Regions from separate parts of the Homo sapiens genome. Here region 2 is linked to region 1. Evidence: promoter capture Hi-C in human tissues and cell types (Jung and others, 2019). All regions are on one chromosome and are shown on one strand. The core of a region is centred on a gene start or on the middle of the fragment in contact, and the rest is flanking DNA. Distances in the headings are between cores, read along the strand shown. Region 1 overlaps CCDC183 (coiled-coil domain containing 183). Region 2 holds the start of EGFL7 (EGF like domain multiple 7).

Region 1 (2,706 bases), core at 78-2,577:
GCCATCATCTTACAAATGGGGACACAGAGAGATTAAGTAACTTTCCCAATGTCACACAGCTAAACTAGCTGGTCAGAAGCTGCCTTGGCCTTGAATCCTGACTCTCTGACCCCAAGCCCATGTCTTGAGCCCCTCTGTTTCACTTCAAAGCAGAACTGTCCCCAAACCTCCCCGGGTTTCAGTCAGCCTTTTCTGCAGAGCATTTCATCACAAACTCTCTCAGTCTCTCTGGGTTGTTGGACCCTAGGTGGTGAAAGAGTCCACCAGGCCAGCACTGTCCACTCCCTGTGAAACACCTTTCATCACCGTTGTGCCCAGCGGGGAGTGGGGGAGGTGGCTGGGGCCACAGAGGAGAACCTATCACTGTTCTCAGGGCTCTTAGTCGGGGGATAAAAGCTCGGGGCAACTGCAGCCCACTCTGTAGGGGCCACAAGAGAACCCCATTCAACACAGGTGCTGGCAGGATACCCCATTGAGCTGGACAAGCTGCAGAACCTCGTGGTCAACTACTGCTCAGAGCTGTCGGATATGAAGATCATGTCCCAAGATGCCATGATGATCACGGATGAGGTCAAGGTGAGCTCAGGGCCCAGGGCTGGGGGCCCCCCAGGGCCAGCCCTCTTGGATCTTCGGATGGGGTCAAGGTGAGCTCAGGGCCCAGGGCTGGGGGCCCCCCAGGGCCAGCCCTCTTGGATCTTCGGATGGGGTCAAGGTGAGCTCAGGGCCCAGGGCCGGGGGCCCCCCAGGGCCAGCCCTCTTGGATCTTCGGATGGGGTCAAGGTGAGCTCAGGGCCCAGGGCTGGGGGCCCCCCAGGGCCAGCCCTCTTGGATCTTCGGATGGGGTCAAGGTGAGCTCAGGGCCCAGGGCCGGGGGCCCCCCAGGGCCAGCCCTCTTGGATCTTCGGATGGGGTCAAGGTGAGCTCAGGGCCCAGGGCTGGGGCCCCCCAGGGCCAGCCCTCTTGGATCTTCGGATGGGGTCAAGGTGAGCTCAGGGCCCAGGGCTGGGGGCCCCCCAGGGCCAGCCCTCTTGGATCTTCGGATGGGGTCAAGGTGAGCTCAGGGCCCAGGGCTGGGGCCCCCCAGGGCGGGCTCTCTTGTGTCTTCTGGCCAGGGTCTCTCAGGAGACCCCCATGCCCACACTGCCTACAATCCCCAGAAGGATCCAGTGGCCAGCCCGGCCAGCCTGCTCTGCTCACCCACTGGACAGAGCAGGTCCCATCCAGCACAGGAGCCATGAAGTAGAGGAGAGGGAGAGAACTGGCCGGGCCAGGGCGGGGGTCACCTATTCACCCAGTCTGTGCCAAGGTCCCTGCAAGGCTCTGGGGATACAGCAGGGACCGGGACAGGCAGACCCTGTCCTCCTGAAGTGGGTGGCACTCATCCAGTAGTCCATGAAGAAATGCCACACAGCCCCTGAGCCAGCTCAGCAGAGACAGGTGGGGTGGCAGATGGCTTTCCAGGAAGACAGTGCTTGAGCTGGGCTGAGGGATTGAACCCGCAAAGGTCAGGTGTGGCCAGGGCTAGGGAGGAGGAGGTACAACTTGGGAAAAGGCCCTGGGCTGGGAGGGGTGTGATACATGGAGCAGCGTGTGGCCAGGGCAGTGGAGGCTGCAGAGGCACAGGCCCCAGGAGTCCACGGAGGCGGCTGGGCTGGGGGCCCAAGGACTGACCTGGAGCCCTGGGAGGAGGTGGAGGAAAGATGTGACCAGGTCTGTGCTTCAGAAAGGGTGTACTCAGGCTGCAGGGACTGGAAGGTGCCAGGGCAGAAGCGCTGATCACCTGGGTATACCCGGGGTGGAGAAGGGGTGGCCAGGAGCAACGGAGCTGAGAACTCCTCAAGAGGCAACCCCACTAAGCGCTGGCAACGAGAGTGGCGAGGGTGAGAGCAGTGTCTGGGGTGCGTGAGCAGGGGTTAGCAGATGACGGTTTTAGCTGCCCAAGGGCACGCTGGAAGAGGCCAGGTTTTGGGGAAGAGGATGAATCTGTCTTCAGGCAGGCTGAATGCACTTCCGTGAGTTCTAGGTGGACCTGGCCAGGAGGCAGCTGGGGGCCAGCGGCTGGAGGGCAGCAGAGCGTCTGGGCTGGCACATGCTCTGAGGCATGGGCAAGGAGGGCCGTGAGCTGAGGGGCCACGGGCACAAGTGGTTTAGGAAAAGGGTGTGGCCATTGGCCGGGGATGCAGTTCCAAAGTCTAGTAAGGTGAGCATGGCCAACCGCCCGCTGGCTTTACTGCCATTAGGGGCCTTGTTGAGACAGCTCCCCAACCCTGTGCCCACCCGCATGTCCCCAGAGGAACATGAGGCAAAGGGAGGCGTCCTTCATCGAGGAGCGCCGGGCAAGGGAGAACCGGCTCAACCAGCAGAAGAAGCTGATCGACAAGATCCACACGAAGGAGACCAGCGAGAAGTACCGCCGGGTAAGCCCCAGGCCAGGGCCTGGCTGGCTGCCCATCCCCATGACAGCTGGGTGGACACAGGCTCAGGGCCACCACTCAGGGCCCACTCCCTGCCAAGGATGTCTCATCCCTTCCCCGCCCCCACCTCCCATCAGGGCCAGATGGACTTGGACTTCCCCTCGAACCTGATGAGCACGGAGACCCTGAAATGTAAGCGCTCAGCTCCCCACCTGCCCCCAGCCAGGGTCCCAAGGAGAGGCTGGCACTGATTCAGGCCAACGGATCAAGTCACCCTGAGGCCAGGTGTGAC
Region 2 (2,706 bases), core at 150-2,649, 140 kb before region 1:
CAGCGGTGCCTGGGTGCCAGGAGCGCCCCCTTAAACCAGCTCAGTGACCATGAAGCAGGTGCAGAAACAGGCCCGGAGAAGAGTGAGGTCCTGCCTGGCTGAGGCCCTGAGCCCTGACCACAGCCTGGCGCCCAGAGCAGACCCTTCCCCTGGCCGTGGGTAGAGGGGAGCTGGTTCCTGCTTGAGGGGGAGGCGCATCGCGTGTGGGTGAGGTTTCCACCTGCCCTCCAAAGTCCCGTGGGGAATTTCCCCAGCTGCCCCAGCCTCCCTTGGCTCAAGTTGCCCAGCTGAGTGGGGCTGGAGAGGTGGGGGCACACTGACCGCCCAGGGCCAGGGAAATGGGGGTGTCCCAGGCATCAGGCCGACAGGGGCTGACCCCAAAGCAGGGCTCACACCCCACGGACAGCGGGGTTGGGAGAGGCCCTGCTCTCCTGGGGTTCCAGGCGTGCCCTCCAAAGCCACCCAGCTCCCTTCGGCACCGTGTCCCCTCCCACCCAGCCCACCTTTGCCACAGTGGCTCGCTCGGCCTGAGGCTCCCACTGCCGTGTGAACAGGGAAGATGAGGGTCAGACCTGGAGGCTGGGACGCCGGGAATCTGACAGAGCACCCCCTGTGATCACCCACAGTGTCCCGCATCCCTCCCCACACCCCCGGCCGCAGCCTGCTGCCAGCCCAGAGCACCCCTGTGAAGTGGGGCTGAGGGCATTGGGCCTGCTTGCCCATCTCCAGGGCAGGGGCTCACAGCCTCACTGGCAGCTCTTTTAGGGGAGAGAGCTTGGACTCCATGCTTGTCCCCTCCCGTCACCCCCTCACCATGGGCCTCAGGGACCCACGGAACAGGCTGTTCTCGGACCGCTCAGCCTGTCTTGCCACCCCAGTCCCTTCCTGCCGGGCCTCGCCACTCGCCATCCCTCACTGGTCAAGGCTCCTGTGTGGCTGGTCCCTGCCTTGGCCTGGGGCCCCTCCAAGCTCCCGTGCTGTGTCACACACATCTGGGGGTGTCCTGGGGGAGGGCCCAGCATCCTTGGCCCAAAGATGCAGCAGCTCCCTTCTGTCCAGCCACACGTGAGCATGGCCTGTGAACCCACGGTCCTGGGAGGGCCCTGGGCTTGCGTCCTCCACCCCACACTCTCCCCAGGGTCTCCAGCAGGGTCCAGCCCTGGTTTCTGGCTGTTTTGGGGCTAGACTCTGATGGCCCAGGGGACGGCTTCCCCACCCCTGGGCAGTTTGTCCAGGCCCCCTCACACGGTGGCCCCCACCCCCCTCAGCCTCCTGTTTGTCCGACGACACGTCCCCGTTATCAGCGGAGAACACACACAGGAAGTCCGGCTGGGAAGGGCCCATCCCAATCCCGATTACCCAGGACGGAGCATAAAAAGCCGCCCTTCCTCGCCCGGGGGGAGCCTCCCTGCACCAAGCTGGCCCTGCACGGCTGCAAGGGAGGCTCCTGTGGACAGGCCAGGCAGGTGGGCCTCAGGAGGTGCCTCCAGGCGGCCAGTGGGCCTGAGGCCCCAGCAAGGGCTAGGGTCCATCTCCAGTCCCAGGACACAGCAGCGGCCACCATGGCCACGCCTGGGCTCCAGCAGCATCAGGTATGGCAGGGGTGGCCTCGGAGGGGCAGGGAGCGGACAGGGCGGGCCCCCCATTCCCCTCACTCCCGCTGACCGTGGCGCCTGCTGGCTGCTCCGCAATCTGCTCCCCAGCGAGGTCACAGGGGAGGGGTCCCAGTCTCCTCCCCTTCTGCACAGAGGAGGCCACTGAGGCCCCTTGGCCAAACGCCTGCTAGTGGGTGGCCCAGCGTAGATCCCAATCCAGTCTGCTGACTCCAACACTTCACCCCCAGTCGCCCTTCCCCTGAACCCCACCCTCTGGCCTTTCTCTCCCTCCGCAGAGCAGCCCCTGTGGTTGGCAGCAAAGTTCAGCTTGGCTGGGCCCGCTGTGAGGGGCTTCGCGCTACGCCCTGCGGTGTCCCGAGGGCTGAGGTCTCCTCATCTTCTCCCTAGCAGTGGATGAGCAACCCAACGGGGGCCCGGGGAGGGGAACTGGCCCCGAGGGAGAGGAACCCCAAAGCCACATCTGTAGCCAGGATGAGCAGTGTGAATCCAGGGTGCGGGACGTGGGGCTCGGGCTTAGGGATGACTTGCTGGGTGCGGTGGGCAAATGGGTGACTCTGTGGGCCCCCCTTGGACCCTGGAGACGCCCTTGTTCTCCCTCTCCCCAGCCTCATGCAGAGTGGCTGAAGCCCCATCCCAAAGCCCCCAAAACCACAGTGGGTCCTAGAAGGCCCCACTTTTTGTCTCATACGTCCACACCAAGAAGCCTGTCTGAGAACCCCCACTTTCCAAATGGTGCCTAGCCAGGATGGGGGCAGCGAGGGCTGAGTCGGGGCAGCCCTGGAGCTGCCCTTTCTGCTCCATCGCCTCTTCCAGACTCAGGCAGGAGAGGTGGGGAGGCAGGTCAAAGGGTTAAGTGACCGCAGATCCAGAGATGAGGCCAGGGGCAGGGGACAGGGAGGGTGGCGGTGGCTCTCCCACCCAGAGGCCCCCTAGGCCCCACTCTGAACACTTCACTGCTGGGGGCTAGGTAAGAGCTGCCCTGCGTGGGCTCAGGGCGCCAGGAGGCCTAGGACTCCCCAGTCAGATGAGGAACGCCCCCTGACAGCAGCTGCTCTGGTCGTCCCTTGGACCACGTGCCAGGGGCTTCCAG

Evidence for each region. The method cuts DNA at HindIII sites, captures the fragments that hold promoters and counts their contacts. A contact is called where the count stands out against the background at its distance.
Region 2: a contact is called between the fragment with the promoter of EGFL7 here and a fragment that was not itself captured in region 1, in 2 of the 25 tissues and cell types used here (lymphoblastoid cells and mesenchymal stem cells).

The regions. Positions count from the first base shown.
Region 1 is chr9:136,802,211-136,804,916 of GRCh38, forward strand. It overlaps CCDC183 (coiled-coil domain containing 183), which reads left to right. Exons shown (of 14, transcript NM_001039374.5): 6 at 454-576; 7 at 2,292-2,417; 8 at 2,552-2,606. It overlaps CCDC183-AS1 (CCDC183 antisense RNA 1), which reads right to left. Exons shown (of 5, transcript NR_024580.1): 5 at 1,717-2,706. Among named protein-coding and RNA genes, the nearest start is that of RABL6, 4.4 kb to the right of the region's middle. The HindIII fragment of the contact is 7,702 bases long and covers 1-2,706 here.
Region 2 is chr9:136,661,517-136,664,222 of GRCh38, forward strand. EGFL7 (EGF like domain multiple 7) reads left to right here and starts at 1,400. Exons shown (of 11, transcript NM_016215.5): 1 at 1,400-1,592; 2 at 1,892-2,107. The HindIII fragment of the contact is 17,984 bases long and covers 1-2,706 here.